4 separate regions of the Homo sapiens genome follow, and all the other regions are linked to region 3. The links are contacts of gene promoters, found by promoter capture Hi-C in human tissues and cell types (Jung and others, 2019). All regions are on one chromosome and are shown on one strand. Each heading gives the region's core, a stretch centred on a gene start or on the middle of the fragment in contact. The rest is flanking DNA. Distances are from core to core; before and after follow the strand shown. Region 1 has its middle 13 kb from the start of LINC02032. Region 2 has its middle 29 kb from the start of LINC02046. Region 3 holds the start of ZIC4 (Zic family zinc finger 4). Region 4 has its middle 160 kb from the start of LINC02032.

Region 1 (4,773 bases), core at 872-3,371, 690 kb before region 3:
TATAATATATAATTTATAAATATATATATTATAAAGATATTAAAGGAAGATTACTCCTCAAAATACAGAAAAATTATAATAGCTGTCACAACCTCTATAAAATATTGTCTTCTAAGATTAAAATATGAAGAAACTGAAGTAATCTATGTGTTGACTCTGTTGGGATGTAAAGTAATTTTATGAATTAGGATTTGATTTGGTCTTTTAGTCTTGTTTGCTATAGGTTCACTAAAAGTTGCAGACATTTGAGCATTTTCATGTCATTCTTTTTTTTTTTTAATGATAAACTCTTATTCTGCCAACAACAACAACAACAACAATGTGTAACTTGGATACCAGTTCCTTTTAATGAAGCTTTTGAGTCTTACAAAATATGATTAATCTGATTAGCGATTCAGCCTCCTTTTATGCTTACATTATCTAACACAAAGAGCCCCCCTACAGGTTAAAGTTTAAATGTGGATTACCAGATAAAGCTAGTCCTGACGAGGTTTCTATGGTGCAAGGAAAAATTGGATTTGCTTTTCACCTCATCTCAGGCTCTGTCATCCTGGTTTTCGCCTTGTTCACAGCAAGGATATTAATTTTGCAGTAAAATCTTTAAGCAATTATGCAGATAGCGCTGAAAATGCAACATACACACACAATAAGAGAAGCTTAACTGAAAAATGGACCCCAGATATTCATTAAAAACAGATGGCTACATTGCCAACAGCATAACTTTGGATGTTTGGGCTAAGCTGATATTAATCTGCCACAACATGAAGAGAGGATGAAACTGCTGGTGTACAAACTGTATGTATTGCTTCTTCTTTTTGCTTAAAAAGGAATATAATGATGATTTATGACTGCCCTTTTGATAAATGTCCAAAAAAGCACTCAGAAGTGAAGTAACATTTTAATAGTACTTGCTCTATCAAGTACTGATGCTCATTTTTGAGACACGTGTGGAATATGATAAATCATATTTGAAAATTCTTATTTTTCAAAAATTGTCATGGAAGTAGATGCAAGGATTCCATTTAAAAATCAAATATATATATATATATATATACACACACACACACACACACACATATATATTTAAATCTGTTTAAAAGAGGGACTATTTTGATTATAATATTTCAAAATCACTATAAAACACATTCGAATTTATCTGATGACCTGAGGACATCTTGACAAGAAGATAATTTTCTCTTAAATGACAAAAAACAACTATTTGTTGTTTATTTGCTCAGTGGAAATAGTAAAATTTTCAATCTAAACAAAATAAAGTAAAATAAATCAGAAAAATGTTTGGCAAGTCTTCCAAGTAAAGCATGGATGATAGAATCCATTGAGATAATTGCTACAGTGATAAATGCATAAAGTATATGTTTTTATCATTTATAATTATTAAACCAAAGTAAATAATTGAACAATAAGTTGTACCTAAAACTATACACATGCAATAAGTGTTAGAAGATTACAGAGGACTTCAACCAATGCTTTCTTGTTGGCCAAATTTATCTAACCACAGAAGCTACTTTCTGGACAGAATTGTCCTTATGGTATTACATGGACCGAATAATACCTAGTCAGACCACCATAAGGACAGCCACATTGAGTGTTGGGTCCAAAGACTAATTGAAACACCTTGACATTATTCTACTGCTTTATCTACATTTTGAAGACTGAACTGGGAATCACTGTTTGAAAACGGTCTTTATTACAACTAGAGAGTTTATTTTATCCCTTGAGTGTTAACCATTATTTTTTTCTTATATTAAAAAACTTTATATTTATTGTAGAAAAAAATTAAACAGATACTCTAAAGATAAGAAAGTTCAGATCATCCCCAATCCTACTACCCTGAGATGACCACCACCAATATACTTTTAATACATATTTTAAGGTATTTTTGATATAAATAAATGTATATTTTTTAAAAATTGAGATCCAGCTGGGCACGGTGGCTCACACCTGTAATCCCAGCACTTTGGGAGGCCGAGGCAGGCGGATCACCTGAGGTCAGGAGTTTGAGACCAGCCTGGCCAACATGGTAAAACCTTGTCTCTACTAAAAATACAAAAATGAGCTGGGTGTGGTGGTGTGCACCTGTAATCCCAGCTACTCGGGAGGCTGAGGCAGGAGAATTTCTTGAACCTGGGAGGGGAGGAAGAGGTTGCGGCGAGCTGAGGTTGGACCATTACACTCCAGCCTGGGCGACAGAGCGAGACTCTATCTCAAAAAAAAAAACAAAAAAACAAAAAAAATGTTGTGATCTAACTGTTTATTATGGAATCTGCTTTTATTACTTTTATTCTTCCAACAGTCTATGTAATGACTATCAGTTCTATAGAATCCAATGTTTTTCCAGATCCTTATTTTACTGAATCCATAGTATTCCATTGTATGAATAATTAAAAATTCATTTTACTAACCCTCTATTTATGGTAAACAGGATGGAATTTTTTATTACTATTAAAAACATCACAAAATTCATCTATTTAGCTAAAATTTGTATGTAATATATGTGTTACCAATTAGCTGATCCTCTAGCATTATCCTCTTTCACATGTAAATAAACATTTTCTTGGGCAAAGTATACTCCTAGAAAAAACATTCAACAAGCTCTTTTGTTTAACTCAACCTATTTTTTAAAAAATGTATATTTATAGTCTGACTAAAATAACTTGTTGCTAATGGAAACTATTACTTTATGTTAATAACCTTAAAATAAACCTTTTCAACCTAATCAAATTTCTATCAGCATTCTCTATGTTGCTTCAGCCATGCTGATCATTTGCTATTCCTCCAGCATGCATTCTATTCTTAAATACCATCAGACCTTTACAGATGTGTTTCCTCCTAATGTCCTTGGACTACACTCAAGTTGCTGTACTAAATTATCAACTACCCTGTGAACCCCTCATTTAACCCCATCTGTGATAGTCATGTGCTGTTCCTGTAGATAACCTCGTGTGCTAATCTCTATTTAAGGTCTTTTTTTTAAATCAAAAGTATTTGTTTATATGTTCTTCTTTTTCAATGGGTTGTGAACAACTTCAGGTTGAGGTTTATGTCTCATTCACTTTTTATTCCCAGTACTTGATGAAATGCCTAACATCTACTAGGCATTCTGAAATGTTCATTAAACTAAATAATGACCTGAGGATATCTTGACAAGAAGATAATTTTTTATAAACGACAGAAAACAGAAGCACAGCTACCTTCAGCAGGTCCTGACTGGGGCTGCACAGGGCTCAGCCAACTCTGGTGGCCTCAATGTCATTTTAAAGGATAAAATGAGCTTGAAGCTTTGAGTTTCCTTCTCCCTTTCACCACTGTGAATGATTCAAACGTATGTATGCACTCACCACCACCTCCCAAAAAAACCCTAATTTGGCCCCATCTGTTGGTGAGCATAAGGAGATATGGTTAGATTTTGAAGCAAAGGGAAGAAGAAGCAGAATAGTGATTGAATAGGGATTTGACATTCTTAGGGATTGTTATCCTGTCCTTCCATTAACAGGACTCTTTAGGCAAGGTGAAGGAGGAAAATGACATTATTACAATTACCTTTAAACAAATAAGCCCTAGATGCAGAACAATCTTAACTTTATGTATTAATATTCATTTGTAACTATTGAATGTGTGCTGTTGGTGAAACATCACATTAGATTTTCGTAATGGTGGCATGACCGATGGCTCTGAAAATTTTTTTGTTCCACCTTCCTTGTATTGAAGCCATATAGCTGTAAAGAGAGACTTAGGAAGCCAGAGAAAGGAAACTTTGGCTCACCCAAAAATCCATCTGAAGCAGTTCAAGGAAACATAATTCCAAAAAAAAAAAAAGAGAGAGAGAGAGAGCTTCCCCTTATTGGAAGGAGCCAGAAAGAGCAACCCACTGGGGTGGGGGATGACTTAGAGGGCTGTCTCCCCACTGTTTGTGAAGTTGCACTACATGATTTCCAAATGTCTTCCAAATCTAGAGTCTATGAATGGTTATAACTATTTATGCACAAAAGCCTCCATCCGGAATCATCATCCCACTCACAAATAATTTTCATGTCTTTTATTTCACATTTTTCTTTCCAAATGAGAAATTAGACAGACTCCTTTATGTTTCATTTTAAAGAATGTCTAGATTAAATTTGGGAATAGGGATTCTATATCTAGATGTAGATATAAGCTTTAAAAGCTAACCTATTGAGTGGATATTGAAATCTTTAGAAATCTTTTTCTTATATCAAGACTATTTTCCTGTGTTTGCATCTGTCATGACAAGTGTGATTAAATATTCTGGCAATGGTATTCAACAGGCATACTATCACAAAAACAATTTCTGTGGCTTGAAAAGTGATGTTTAAAGCCATTTCAGTGATACCAAATGTTTCTTTGAGGTTAACATCTTGTGACAGGAAATGAACACAGCACTAAAAAAAAAAAAAAAAAAAAGTGCAGCTAGGCATCATATGAAAATTTAGTATATTTTCTTATGAAGAAATTTCCTTAAACAGATACTTACTTTAAACTTATTGGTTAATAGTATTATATACTGTTAAATAAGAATACTTATTTTTTAAAAAAGACCTGGGAAACACATAAAGGTTAAAACACAATTTTATTTTTAATTGAAATTGTTTTTAATAAAATCTCATGAGTGTTTTTAAGCTCTGAGTATTCACATTTGAATATGGTGAAAGTGTGTATATTTAAAGAAGTAAGCTATTTAACATATTGTGTAATATGAGCCAGATAATCTGCTTTGATAATGAGGACCCTGTGCAA
Region 2 (4,704 bases), core at 646-3,145, 850 kb before region 3:
GGTAAATCGCTCTTCTTATGCCCCAATGGATGATCTGTTTTATTCTGAGCCCGTAGGGTCTCAGGAACTCCTTTAAATTGGAGATTTTCTTACTTTTCTTTCTTTCTTTTTTTTTTTTTCCTTTATGCACCCATCCCTACGCTTCCACACATATTTCCTTTCCTATTCAGTTAGCTCTGCTTTAAGAAGAGATGAAGGGGCCGGGCACAGTGGCTCACACCTGTAATCCCCACACTTTGGGAGGCTGAGGCAGGCCGATCACTTGAGGTTAGGAGTTTGAGACCAGCCTGGCCAACATGATGAAACCCAGTCTCTACTAAAAATACAAAAATTAGCCAGGCATAGTGGTGGGCACCTGTAATCCCAGCTACCCGGGAGACTGAGACAGCAGAATTCCTTGAACCTGGGAGGTGGAGGTTGCAGTGAGCTGAGATGGCGCCACTGGACTCCAGCCTGGGTGACAGTAGAAGACCCTGTCTCAAAAAAAGAGAAGAGTTAAATGGAAAAAGTTTTGTCGGAATGAAAAAAGCATACAAAGCTGCACTCTAATTTTTTACAGTCCTAAGTCAGTATTTGACTACAAATATTGACTTAATATTGTAGCCATATTTTTTTTGCTTGATAAGGTTTTTATTCTTTTGCACCACCAGGACCTCTAGTCCATTATCTCTATGAGCTTTTCACTGTCACTATCTTTTTACCAACCTTGGATTCTATAGTCTACCTTTAGCAACACCTCTTTGAATGAATTCCTTTGCTAGTCTCTTACCAAATAATATCTTCCCAACACAGTCCCAACTCTAGTTACATCCAATTCTTTAACTACATGGTGCTTGTATCTATTTAGCTGAGTATTGCCAGAGGAGACCATAACATAATTAACCATCTCACATTAAATTCTTGACCACAAAACTCTTAAGTGGGACCTTTAGGGCTACTTAATAGACATCCTGTTTGATATTTCCCTGGACATTTCATTTCCCATTTTCCCTTAAACAATGATTTCACACTTCTTCCTTTCACTTCAAATCTCTGATGCCTCCTCCTTCTCCAGAGTATCAGACAATGACTTATTTTTTGTTTCACTGACAAAATAGAAGCAATCAGAAGAACTTTGCAATTGTTGCTATTATTTGGTTTGCCAAATGCCCTGCACCTAGACCCTTGTATTTTGCCATCCCTCTGGTTATGTGTATTAACTACTAGTCCTTTTATCTGAAGCCAACTCCACTTGAGTTTTCCTCTAACCTACTCAGAAACTTCACTCCTGCATTGTTTTCCCCCTCTACATGATAATTGTCTCTGGTTTGCAAACATGTGATACTGTCTCCCACTGAACTCACATCTCTTTGCAGCCATTGTTCTGTTTTTCTAAATCAGGGTGTGGGTGGGAGTTTATTAAACAGAAAATCAGAGAAAGCTTTTCTTGTAAAGTAACCTCTAGCCTGATAACTTGACTTGCCTAATGAATGACTCCAGTATGAAAATGTAAATGGCTGGGCTGGGCGCGGTGGCTCATGCCTGTAATCCCAGCACTTTGGGAGGCTGAGGTGGGCAGATCACTTGAGGTCAGGAGTTCAAGACCAGCCTGACCAACATGGTGAAACCCTGTCTCTACTAAAAATACAAAATCAGTCGGGTGTGATGGTGCACGCCAGTAATATCTGCTACTAGGGAGGCTGAGGCAGAAGAATAGCTTGAACCCGGGAGGAGGCGGAGGTTGCAGTGAGCCAAGATCATACCACTGCACTCCAGCCTGGGTGTCAGAACAAGACTCTGTCTAATAAATAAATAAATAAATAAATAAACAAACAAACAAACAAACAAACTCTCCATTCTCATCCTCTACACCATCCTGCTCCACAAGCATCCTTTCCCAACTACATTCTTTTGAATGCTCAGACAATAACCATGGTGTCATCCTTGCCTTTCTTCTTTCTCTCACTCATGTTAAAGTATAATTTTCCAAAGAAAGCATAGCTGTCATGCAAGTATAAAATAAAATAAACATATGTCAAAGACACATTAAAGAGGGAACCAGTAAGGTGTATTTATAAGCTTGCTAACTAAGAAATAAATATTAGAAAAGGATTGCTATGTTAGATGTAAAACTGGTTAGTATCCCATAGAGCAATAAAGTATAATTTGGGGGTTATCTTTTTCACTAGACAATGGTTATTTGAATATCTATTGGACAGACATCTCCAAATTGTCCTGTAATTTTACTAAACCTGGTACCTTTAATCCAAAATTCTTACACTGAGATAACATTTAAATGGGCCTTTGTTCCCATAAGACATTGAAAGGATATGCCATCCTTTCAATAAGGCCATCCACCTCTTGCCTTATTTCCTAAGTTTCACATAATTTTAATTAACACCCAACTTGCAAACCATCAATAAATTCTGTTGGTTCTAACATAAAAATATTTTCAGGATTCAAATATTTCTCTCCGTTTTTGGTATCATCCTGATTCAGGTCATCTCTTGCCTAGCTATTTGCAAGTTTTCCCTATCTAGTCTCTCTGCTTTTTCCCTTGCTTTTCTAATTTATTCTCCATAGCAAGGGCAGAGTGATCCTGACCCATTAAAATCATTTGAATGGTTTACTGTTTCACTCAGAATAAAATTCAAAGTCCTTACTTTGGTCTAAAAGATATGATCCTCTTATTCTGGCTAATTTCCCGATTTTATCTCCTCCATTCTACCTTAGTCTTCTTTCTTATACTCAAAGAGGCAATTATCCTGCCTTAGGGATGTTCTTGCCTAGAAAGCTCTTATTCCCAGCAACTTAGAAAGCTTCTATTCCTAGCTTTCTGTATGGCTCACTTCCTCACTTCATTTGGGTCTCTCTCAAATGTTACTTTACAAGAGAAGCATTCTCTGATTTCCCGTTTAATAGACTCTCACTCCTTGCCCTGATTTATTTTTCTTTATAGCACTTATTACCACCAACATACTATAAATTTATGTTCATGTATTACCAGTTTCTGCCTCCTAGAATGTACATTTCATGGGAGTAAAAACTATATTTTGTTAATATAAGCCCAGTACATAATAGGTATCAATAAATATATGTTGAATGAAGAAATAAATATAGAGTTTTTTCTTGGAAATAATCTCATAGAGAGGCTTTCACATTTTCAGTAACCTAACCTACTTATTACCTGTTTCCTCCTTTCTATAAACACACAAACCCATTCTTGTATGAGTGTGCTCCTTTATCATAATTACAAAAGCTACCCCTTTTCAAATAAGTCATCTCATAAAAGCCATGATTTTTGTTTTGCTGTAACTCTTTGAATAGGCATTAAAATCTGAGAAGTCAGAACAATAGTGTCTAGGAAGCAGGGGAGACTGACTTTTCCATTTTGAAGACTCCCCAGTACCAATGAAGGTCTCATTAGTCCAGTTATCAACAGATTAAATGTACTTAAGGAAGTTCAAAACCCCATCATGATGAACTTCTGTTTCCTCTTCTCCTGCTACATTACCATAGGCAAGTGGCTCTCAAAGCCTTGTTTCAGGACCAGCAGCATCTACATCACCTGAGACACTGTTAGAAAATACAGATTTTTAGCCTCAACTCAGACCTGCTGATCAGAAACTCTGGGATGTTCAGCTCTTCCATCTGTGTTTTAGCAAGCCTTCCAGGTGATTCTGATGCTCATGTAAAGTTTAGAACCACTACCTTAGGTGGTTGGCCTCTATACCTGAAGAGGCAGTGGTGAAGTTAATTATACTTGAGTCAAGTGCCTCAAATCAAATCTTAGCTTTGTTTTGTTGCTTTCTAGCTGTGTGACTTTAACTAAGTTACTTAACTTCTCTATGTCTCATTTTCTTTGGATATGAACTGGAGATATTAATAGCACCAATCTTGTAGCTGTATTATGAAGATTAAATTAATACACCCAAGTGAAACACTTAGGACAATGCCTGGCATATAGTAAGAAACAACTGCAAAGTAGATAAGCATTGGTGTTACTTACAAAAATTACGTTATTGAATGCTTTTTGGTATGCTTTCTGTACTAGCTTATACATTCTTTGAGGGAAAAATATATTTTATATTTATCTATCCTCATAGAACTGAGCATATTATCGTTAATATTACAATCATTAACTGAGTGCTTACTGTGTGCCAGGGAATGTGTTAAGAACTGTAATATTTTGCTGTTGCCTCAAACTAAAAGACAAGTCTACATTAATCTGCCCATTGCAATTATTTTTGCATTATTTTAGAAACTTCTTAAATGTCATAACCGATGAGTCTCAATCATTACTTATATAAAAATAAGCAAGTCACACAAATTGTAGCTCTTTTGTAGCCTATTTGAATTGTATAGAATTTCTGTGCAACTATACATTTTTGTATCTCATTAATTTGTTATAAAGAGCAAAAAAATGTTAATGTCAAGTCAAATTGCCTGTAAATGACTTAAGGAATATGTTAATGATCTTGCTCCAAATGAATAATTATAAAGCAGGTGCACTGGAGATATGATCATTTAACTGAAAGAAAACAGCTTCTAATGGCTTCAATAACCAAGATAATGGTGATATTGGAGAAGCCTGTTAAACTCATTGTTCATGCCATTCATTTAATACACAAGAGAACTTCAGATGGAATCTCCCTGTGGACTCATTGCCCTGCTTATTTAAATAGCAGTTAATTTAAACACACACCCAAGTCAAAACTGCATTAT
Region 3 (5,197 bases), core at 1,742-4,241:
AAAAGTGGGTGGGGGGGTGAAGAAAGAAAGAAAAAGCCAAAGAAAAGGCGCAAATCATGCACAATATTGTCTTTTGCGGTTTATCTTCCTGGGGAGAAACTTTCACCTCCTCAGCCGGGCGGTGAGCGCGAGACTGATAGCAGCAATCATTCCTGCAGATAAATGAATTGAAAGGACGACACCGTCCCCCCCTTGATGAATGGGAGCAGGGGGGAGGTGTCACGTGCTGCCGACGCTGGCGCCCATTGGTGCGCCCGCATTCCCCCCGCCCTCAGCCGCCGCGCCAACGGAGGGCGCGCCGAGGCGCCGCGCGCAGCTCATTGGCCCGCCCGCCTCATCAATCCCAGGTATTGTAAAGCGCTTGACATCCCCTTTTGACAAACCAGGGCTGCCAGGAGTAGCAACTTTTTTTTTAGCCAAATTTTTTCCCTCTTCTCACGGAAATTTTTTTTCTTTTTTCTTTTCTTTCTTTCTTTTTTTTTTTTTTTTTTTTTTTTTGCCACGATTACTTTTCCTTCTCACAGTCATATGCATTCCTCTTCCTCCTTTGCCCTCCCGCACCCCGGCGCTGCCCTTCCCGAAACCAACTTTTCGCTGAGCGATTAGAGACTTCAGACGTCTCCGGGTGCAGCAGGCGGGGATGGGGCTAGTAAACACAGCAAAGGCACTTCCAGAATGTCCCGATTCAGCAACTTTCTTTTCTTTCTTCCCCCTTCCCCCCTCCCTTCAAGAGCAGCAAAAGAGGCTTTTGTTATTTGCTCCTTTTGAAGTTTGTTTCCCTCTTGCTTTGTCCCCCTCCTGTTTATAATTTAAGATCTTGGGAGCACACGGGCACTATGCTCTCTTTACAAAAAAATGTAATTTCTCAGTGTAACCGGCAGCCTCTGTATTTCTCGCTTTTATCTAATCAGACTTCCGGCACCACCGCACCCCCCTCCCCGAAAACACACACACACACACACTCACACACACAGGTGGATGAAAGCGCTTAAGTTCCCAGGTTATTGAGGTTTGAATTTTTTAATGGCAAATTTGAAACGTTGTTGCCAGTTTCCTTTACTTTTTCTCTCTCTTGCGTTATTTTTCTGTTTTCTGCCTTTCCGTTGTCTCCTTCGACTGCCCCCGCTAACCCTGTCTCTCCTCACTCCTGTTCCCTACTTGGGCCCCTTTCATTCAGGTAAAACTGTAAATTTCCCAACGCGCTATTGTTCCCTTGGGCTGCCCAAAGCTCCCTAGAGATCCCCGAATACTTTTTCGGTATTTAAATCCCCAATAGATAGGACCAATGTAAATTTTGTGACATTCAAACCTTTTCTAGTTCACAAATCAGTCACCCTTGTCACAGTTATTGAAATTCCGCAACTCGCCACACCAGGACGGTGGAAAAAGCGGGCGCGGTCTTTGTTGCCGACCAGGCTTTTGATCGCCAGAGAAAATTTACTTACCTTCAGATGAGTGAGCAGAAAAAGAAATAACACTCCCTTTGATTTAGTTAGGAAAATGCAGACATTTGGATTCAGTGCAAACATACAACACTCGCTTGTTTTCGCGATGCGGCCCTCGATTAACCTGTCTTTGCCTAGCGCAAAGTCTATTCAACAACTGCGCGTAGTTTCTTTTTGTCCCTTCCACAAAGAGCCATTGACTATATATTAAAATGATTGTTGAAAGGTAGGGGAGTATGGTACTTAAAAGCAGGAAAAAAAAATCCCTGTGACTCAATCAATTAAGCCGAGCAACATTTATGCATTTCAAAAAATGCACGCGGATGCGGGGGGTTGTGGGGACGAAGGTTGCATTTCTCCGCAGCTCTGTTTAAAACCCAGCAGTCCTGGCCGAGGCTTTAGCTGAAGCGTCTGCATATTCATTAGGTCTAATTATTTTCTAGTAAGGAAAACACAAAAAGCCAAGAGTCGGAATCCTTCAATTTACCCTTTGTTTCTAACTTCATTTGGCTTCTTTGCAGCTGAATCAAAGCCCTAAACTCTTTTTCCAAACAAAGAAACCTCAACTCATCCTTTCATAGGCGGCCCGGTTAGGAAACTCACCGTGCCCCAGCGAGAGGAAAATGAAAATGAATATATTTTTTGCCCTGACGCCAGCGCTGACTGCACGGGCTGGAGGAAGGCAGGGTCAGCGTCCGCCGCTCCTCGCCTTTCTGGTTTTCTGGTCTTCTCACCAACTAGATTCTCGCTTGGGGCTGGCCGGCGGGACTGCCCTTTCCATGGGCTGTGCTTGCTCAAAAGTCGGCTTGGGTATCCGGGATGATTTCCCGGTGCCTGAAGGGACCTGGCTGAGCATTTGTGCTTGTGCCGGGAAATATAAATTCGGAAAAAAAATTAATTGTTCTGTTCCCATCAACAAGTCTGAGTCTAGCAGCCCAGCATTTCCCACCAACTTTGAGTGGAATGGAATGAGGAGTGGAGGTAAAGAAAGGGCCGAGGTATCTTTAAAAATTATTGTACACTTGGTTGGAAAAAAAAAAGATATATCGGAGGCACTAAGTCTTTTTACCTACAAGGGGAAGTTGGATCCTGCTTCCCCTGGAGTTTAGAAAACCTCATCTGTATGGAGAAGTTTTCTCTAGAGGCTGTATTCCTCTCACTAGGGAGAACAGATATTGAACCCACCTCGCCCGCCTTTCAGGAAACACACGCGGGCGCACACACACACACACAACAAGGGAGGGGACCTAAGGGGGGAAGGGTAGCTGTTGGGAGGGGGAGAGGGAAAATAATTCTTCAAAAAAGAAAAGTCAGTCTTCTCCTCTCCAGTCCGTGGAAAATCCAACGGGGACGTTGACAAGAGGGTATTTTTAGGAAACACATCCAAATATACAGGGTAAGAGTGAATGTGAGAAAAAAAAAAGTTGTGGGTTGTAGAAGTTATCAAGTGGGATTTGCGGCGCTCTCTGCAGGAAACGCGAACGGCTCCAGTTCAAAGCCACATGCACCAACGTGACATATAAGCCATTAAAATATCATCCTGACGGCTCATTTCTGCTTCATCATACATTCCCTAACTGCTTCCTGAAAGCTGGAAAAGGAGAAGTGAAGGATGACCGCCTCGCTGGAACCACAAAAGAGAGGCTTGGAGGGGTTTGTGGTCCCCTCTCAGCCACCCCGAAATGATGTGCAGAAATGAGGCGATCCTGGCAACAGGTGGAGTGGGGTAAGTGCGTGAGTCCAGGGGGCAGACAGATGAGAACTGTACCTCCAGCGACCGGGTAGCAAGTACCCTCAAGGGGACCACTGGCACCCAAACCCCAGTGGGGGAAGAGGCCCAGCCAGTCTTTCTGCCCCATCTCCTCCTTCATCCTACCCCCCTCCCCCAACCGTGGATAAAGGCCCCACCCCACTGACACTAAGGGGAGGAGGGGGCCCTTCCGCAAAGGGGCAACGCAGAGGATGAGTCCATCCCTTCTTCCCAGGAGGAGGGAAAAGGGGTACAAATGGGGCTCCCACTGGCACAGGAACCAGGAGCAGTTTGTTGCCTGCCTGCCTTCCCTTCTCTCCTTGTGAATTGCCTGGGTGCCCCACCGTGGGCACAAGAATGGAAGTCGTGGCCCAGAGCTTCCCTCGCGAAAAATGAGCAAGGCGGGTGCCGGGAGGGGGCCTTTACAGGAGGTATCTCTGCTCTGCCCCCAAGGGGGTGGCTAGGAGAGTCTCTGCTTCCCCTCTCCAGGGTCAAAGCGCCAAGTTAGCCCAGATGGCAGCAAGACGATGGAACTTCTCCGCCCCAACCTGACGGCAGATGCCGCCTGAGTCCACCTCAGGGCGGCTCCTTGCCCTCCCTCACCCTGGTCCTGCCTCAGGAAGCTGACTGCTGGGATCTGCTCTCTGCGCGCGGCCAGCAGTGGGTTCGGGACTTGGCTTTCTTTATCTCCAATGCGAACAAGAGCAGCAACTAGCTCTCTGGGGAGCAGGCCGCAGCTCCTAGGATTCTGGCCCCTAGCCTAGACCCAGGGGCATTGGAAATTAGGGGCCAATGAGGAGGGAATAGAGCTGAGCTGTGAAAGAAAGCTAGGACTGGCTCAAAGGTTGGATCTGAAAGTTGGGGTTGATGAATGGCCCATGTCAAAGTCTTAGGAAAGCGGAGGGGCTTTTGGAGGGTTGCACTTCGGCCGTCACCGTCTTCAGGAAACTCCCTTTGGATTCCAAGGTCATGTTTTCCCCGCTTTCCGACAGTATTGTCCTCGCAGCGACCCACACCACTGCATGCTGCTCTTTTTTCTCCTGTCTCAGCCGCCTGCAGGTTGGGGGAGGGGTGATTCAAAGGGAGGGCTAAATGCCCAGCCTGATCTACTGATACAAACTCTATTCTGGGCACCCGGATGCTGCCCACACTTACTTCAGCCCCGAGCTGGGAAACCCAAGCTTCTCCCTCTAGAGAACAGGAGAATGAGTAAAGGCCCCTGCACAACCCAGCCTCAGCAAACTCCTGGCGCTTGAGGGTCGAATGGAGGGGAGCCAGAAAGGTGCAGGGTGCAGATGAGTAAATCAGGCAGCGGGCAAAGGCCGGGGCCAGTTTCCTCTCTGGCTCAGAGCTCCCTGCCAGCTTTCAGGGTTTTTGCTCTGCGCCCGCCAGGGACAAGTTGCAGCGGAGAGGTGGGCATGCCTTTCCCGCGCCTGCCGGCTAGTCAGTAAGGAGCAGCTCGGGAACTGAAGTCTCTAGCTGCAGCTGACCTCTGACCTTGGGTAGTCCTGCGCCGGCTAGGTCGGCCCCACAATTTGCAGCTTCCGAGGCTCCCCCAAATAAAAATGGTGCTTTTTGCACCTACCCACTGTCCCACCTTCTTGGCTCTCCTCCGGCACTATCAATCACTGGAGCTCCCTGGCACCCGTTCCTCTTCTCAAGGTGGGGCCAGGAGGGCAGATTCCAAAAAGTCTCCAGGATGTGCTATGGACTGGTAATTAGGAGGCCGTGGTTGATGTGGGGAGCAAGCATTTGGGGAAAACGAAACTGAGTTTCTACATTCCGTGGTTGTTTGGGACCTCAGGTCCACGGGCCCCAGGATTGCTCCCAAATTCTCTCACCTCTCTTTCAGCAAGATGACTGGCTTGTTTGCTAAGTGGTGTCAGAGTTTGAACTAAAGGAGATGTTTACCCTAGTTCCCTGTGTAGGCTGTGTGATGGAAACGCTACAGAGAGCCTCCTAAGGTCCCTGTTGCCTGCCCTAGTCCAATCTCTGCAATATT
Region 4 (4,989 bases), core at 989-3,488, 520 kb before region 3:
TGATTGGAGCAAATGTATCTTTTGGTTAAGAAGAAATTTATTTTCATAATTTTGGTTGACTTGCAAAAATTACTCAAATTACTGGTTTGTATTATAGGCCTACCCTGACTCATAAAATAAATTGATTGCTGTTGATTTTCAAAACAGTATCATGGGACCAACAAAAGTAAAATAAAAATTCTCTGCTTTTTAAGATTTTTATCAAGTGGCACAATGTTTCAAGCTGTTAAAAAACCTTGAGTATCCTTTATAAAACTCATGAGATCTGTGACCTACCCCAGCTATGTTGTTCTTTGTGAAACTTTTATGAATATTTTAATATTTGAAGCTAGGTTATTAATAGAGTTTTCTGTTTGGTCTTAGCTTGATTCACATGAACTTTGTTCTCCTTGGGCAATAAGAAATTCCTCAGCATCATACCTTACTAAAAATCTACCCATTTTATACTGCATTAGGTATGAATTTCAAAGCCTTAATTGAGGTTTCTTAGATTTAATCTTTAGTAAATTGCTTTAACTCTAGGGCAGTTAGAAAAATCTAAGTTATCTCTAAGCCACTTTCTGTGTCTATTTCTCTTGTCCCTTTCCACATAGATAACAAACAGGAGACAGCAAGCAGAGGAAAAGTAAGGAGTATGGCTGGGCACAATGGCTCACGCCTGTAATCCCAGCACTTTGGGAGGCCGAGGCAGGTGGATCACATGAGGTCAGGAGTTCGAGATCAGCCTAGCCAACATGGTGAAACCCTGTCTGTACTAAAAATACAAAAATTAGCCAGAAAGGGGGCAGGCGCCTGTAATCCCAGCTACTTGAGAGGATGAGGCAGGAGAATCACTTGAATCCAGGAGGCAGAGGTTATAGTGAGCCAAGATCGGGCCACTACACTCCAGCCTGGGCAACTGAGTGAGACTCTGTATCAAAAAATAAATAAAGTAAAGGGTATGGTTGGCTGGTTCATTCTGTCTCCCTCCAAAAGTTTCTGCCTTAATTTTTGTGGAGGAAGGTGAATGTAGGATGGAGAACAGGTCCTGGATATTCTGAAATGTTGGGCAAATCAGCCAGGAGTAAAGATGCCATTCTCACAGAACTTTCATGTAAAAGCTGTTTGTGCAGCTCTGCCTCTTGGGGTGTCTCGCTGTGACATGCGAAGTCACAGCTTCTCATGTCAGCCTCTCAAAAAGGGCATCTTCTTTGTGAATGGGGTCCCCTGCCCATCCAAGCCCTAACTTGACAGGCATTTTCTTCTTAATATGGAAGATAAATTTCTGAGATATGCTCTCAGCTGCCCCAACATGGTCTTTAAAATCTGTTTTAATACAGCCTTTCCCACATCTTAGATGGTCTACAGAAAATAACATATAAGTATATATGTATGCATTTCTTATATAAATAACTTCAACTTTATGATCTCTACAAACAACAGTCCATAGTTATAAGCAAAATTTCCATAGCATTCTTAAAGCAAAGTTGGAATTAATGTGCTATGGCTATTAAGGTTGAAGTTTGCAGTGAGTGTTTCTCCCAAATCCCCTGTGCTGTGGACCTAATGTCTGTGTCCTCCCAAAAGTCACATGCTGAAATCCTAACTCCAAGGTGACAGTTTTAGGAGGTGGGGACTTTGGGAGGTAGGAGGTCATAAGGATGGACTCCTCTTGATGGGATTAATGCACTTATAAGAAGAAGCATGAGGAAGATGATTTTTCTCTCAGCCATGTAATGGTACAAGAAGATAGTTGTCTGCAAACCAGGAAGTATGTCCTCAGTAGACACCAGATCTGCTGGCACCTTCAGAACTATTAGAGATATACTTTTGCTTTTTAAGCCATCTCAGGTATTCTCTGATAGTAGCCTGAACTAAGATACACTAAAACACTAACAATTAAGAAGCAGAAACTACAATCTACAAAAATCATAATCCTAATATTATTTCCTACTTTTAAAACATTTATCTGAGTTTTTTACTATATTGTACATTATCATTTCCAGTAGAGTATTCTAGGGAGAAGCTACTTCTGAGGAATTAACCTTCAAGTTGCATGTAAACATGTGTTTACAATGAGATGTACTGGAGATATTAATGACTACTTCCAAACTTTGAAAAAGGAGATGGATAGTCAGAATCTCTAAATCAGCTGGGAAAGATTCAGATGGGGGAAACTTCTGATGGGGGAAAATCGTGAATTAAACATTGTAAAAATTTGTTTTCGTGGCCGCACACTGTGGCTCATACCTGTAATCCCAGCACTTTGGGAGGCTGAGGGGGAAGGTTACCTGAGGTCAGCCTGGCCAACATGGTGAAACCCCCTCTGAACTAAAAACACAAAAAAGCAACTGGACATGGTGACGGGCACCTGTAATTCCAGCTACTTGGGAGGCTGAGGTAGGAGAATTGCCTGAACCCGGGAGACAGAGGTTGCAGTGAGCCAAGATCATGTCATTGCACTCCAGCCTGGGTGACAAGAGCGAGACTCCAACTAAAAAAAAAAAACAATAAAAAAAAATATTGTTTTGGTGCCACATAGAGGTAGGAAAATCAGGCTTGGTATGATGATTCCAAAATCATAAGTCTTCCTTTTTTTAATTGAAAAAAAGTCTCTGACTTTCGGACCACAGCTCAACAGAGCCACACTAAATATATTTCTTTAACCTACCTATTGAGTTTTCTTTATCTTCATAACTGGTAGAGAGACCAGTTTAAATATCAAAAGACAACATAAAATGTATGGTCAATTGCCTAATACAGCAAAAAGAAATGGCTATAATTAACTATTTTACTGCCTATCTTTTTTTGTCCAATTGCTACAGAATACTGGAATTATATGGGGACACTGAGGCAGCTGGGACATTTTGTGAAGTTGAACAAATCCAACTTTAAGGTTCTTAGATTTAAGCTTACAGTCTTAAAATATGGTTGCTCTCAAGTCAGTCTGTTTCATCCAACTGGGCCTAGAGTCTCTTTCTCTATTAGTTACTAAAAGTCAGTTTTTTATTGTGAGGTTTTCTGTTGTTGTCATGTTATGTGTTGGTTTTTTTGTTTCATTTTTAATGAAGTGGAGAGAACATGCTTTAGAAAAAAACACATATGGTAAATTTTAAGTGCTCGATACAATATTCTAATTGAGTGTTCATGTTCAAGTACTTTCTTTAGAAATATTTTAATGTGAAACACTTCACAAACAGTAAATCCCAGGTTAGTTATTAGTAAGTGAGCCATATACGTTATCAAAAGCTTTAATTAGATAAACTAGTTTACTTCTCTTTACTTCTTCAGATATCGACTGTCACCTCTGAGTAAAAATCTTCAGCCAGATCTATTTTTTCATTCAGCTTCTCACTTACTGCAAACTACAACCACAGACTTTTTGAAAAAAATATGGCTGCCATCCCAGCTCCATAGTTTCTGTGACTGTTTTTGTCTAACAGAGGAAGAACTAGCACATGTCTGTTAAACAACAGTAGGAACCCTTCCCTCTCTGTTTTGCAGTCATTTGCTTTTCTCTTGGCATCTGTAACTAAAACAATTTCACACAAAACTGAAATGATTCACTACTCGTGCCTTCTGTTAAAGATTCCTGATTTTCAACCCATCTTGGTATTTACATGACTTCTTTCTTTTGAACATTTTTTTTTTGCATCAGGATCTATTTGAACATTCACATTAGCACAAAATGAACAGTTGTAACATTGCTACATTTTCATTTCTGAACACTATATGTTATAATTTACTCTTGTGGTCTTACAGATTAATGAATAAATTCTTAGAACACAAAACTACTTTAGATGCATAAATGAAAGCACGTGTTTACATCATAAACATTTTACTTGTGTGTTTTTAATCATGTTAAAACATGTCAATGTCTTTAAAATGTTTAAAATACAATATAAATTCTTTTAAATATGTTTTTAAAGTTATAGAAAGGTGAGCATTATTCTTTTGAAAAAAAGTACTTCACATCAGAGACCCAGATATAATGGAGCTGTGATAATAATTATGGAGAACAAAGACAACCTCTGAGAGAAAATATAAAATGTACTTCCTTGTGATTGATAAAAGTCCTCTTGAGATTTTCACACAGGCTAATAGCACCACATTGCTCCTTAAATTTCTTTCCTTTTTTTTTTAACTTTCTATAAGATAAGGTAAGTACTGTATATACACAAGAAACGTGAAAAAGTGGAGCAATTTTGTCCCTTGATCACTTTTAAGTAGGAAATTGTCAGGCATTCCTGTTTAAATACAACCTAAGGTCATATGTATCTGTCTACAACTTCCCAAAGTGCTACTCACCTTGTGCACACACTCTAGCCTTTTAGTTGTGTGTTTACTCTCATCTTCCACAGAATTAGTTGAACCTCCGTGAGGTTGACAGAGTCAGTGTTGTGAAGTCCTTCAGATCATAGATAATTATACATTCTTTAAAAGAGAATCTGGATAATTTGAAAACTTTTTTGACTTGGCTAAACTCAAGGCACAAAACAAATTCAATTAGGCTTAGATAATAAATGATCCAGACAAGTTTTGATATTTATACATGTGCTTGAAATAATGATTGGTTCAGTTAACACCTCTACTCACTAGGGGTTGCAATCATATCACAAATTCTATTTTAAAACTTTAGTAGTTGTTCCTCTTACCATTGTATTACTTTTACTTTGAATATCTCTCTTCTCAGAAGTAATCACAATTTTGTGTGTGGCGATTATCATTCCCAAGCTTATTTGTAAGCATTTATTAGAAATGTTTTTGTCTGGACAAAAATTATTTTGTCCAGAAACAATATTTGGCTGGATTGTGGTCAATATGACATTGCTACCATCCCTTTTAAGGTCTCCTCTGCAATGACATTTCAGTCCCTTTTTCTACATGGTTCTTGGTCAGAGTTTGCCAGTGAGAGGTACTCCAGTGATATCGGAATGCAGAAACGAAAGGAAGGTTATGATGTTCTGGAGGTGCTTTCAGGCAGACCCCGGTCAGATTGCAAACAAGAAA

What was found. The method cuts DNA at HindIII sites, captures the fragments that hold promoters and counts their contacts. A contact is called where the count stands out against the background at its distance.
Region 1: a contact is called between a fragment that was not itself captured here and the fragment with the promoter of ZIC4 in region 3, in 3 of the 25 tissues and cell types used here (H1 embryonic stem cells, dorsolateral prefrontal cortex and thymus).
Region 2: a contact is called between a fragment that was not itself captured here and the fragment with the promoter of ZIC4 in region 3, in 2 of the 25 tissues and cell types used here (H1 embryonic stem cells and dorsolateral prefrontal cortex).
Region 4: a fragment that was not itself captured here is called in contact with the fragment with the promoter of ZIC4 in region 3 in 1 of the 25 tissues and cell types used here (hippocampus).

The regions. Positions count from the first base shown.
Region 1 is chr3:148,088,902-148,093,674 of GRCh38, reverse strand. No RefSeq gene overlaps it. Among named protein-coding and RNA genes, the nearest start is that of LINC02032, 13 kb to the right of the region's middle. The HindIII fragment of the contact is 3,232 bases long and covers 506-3,737 here.
Region 2 is chr3:148,249,805-148,254,508 of GRCh38, reverse strand. No RefSeq gene overlaps it. Among named protein-coding and RNA genes, the nearest start is that of LINC02046, 29 kb to the left of the region's middle. The HindIII fragment of the contact is 4,295 bases long and covers 1-4,042 here.
Region 3 is chr3:147,404,337-147,409,533 of GRCh38, reverse strand. ZIC4 (Zic family zinc finger 4) reads left to right here and starts at 2,991. Exons shown (of 5, transcript NM_032153.6): 1 at 2,991-3,171. It overlaps ZIC1 (Zic family zinc finger 1), which reads right to left and starts at 169. Exons shown (of 3, transcript NM_003412.4): 1 at 1-169. RefSeq lists enhancers at 1-562, 985-2,175. The HindIII fragment of the contact is 11,475 bases long and covers 1-5,197 here.
Region 4 is chr3:147,919,697-147,924,685 of GRCh38, reverse strand. No RefSeq gene overlaps it. Among named protein-coding and RNA genes, the nearest start is that of LINC02032, 160 kb to the left of the region's middle. The HindIII fragment of the contact is 3,466 bases long and covers 506-3,971 here.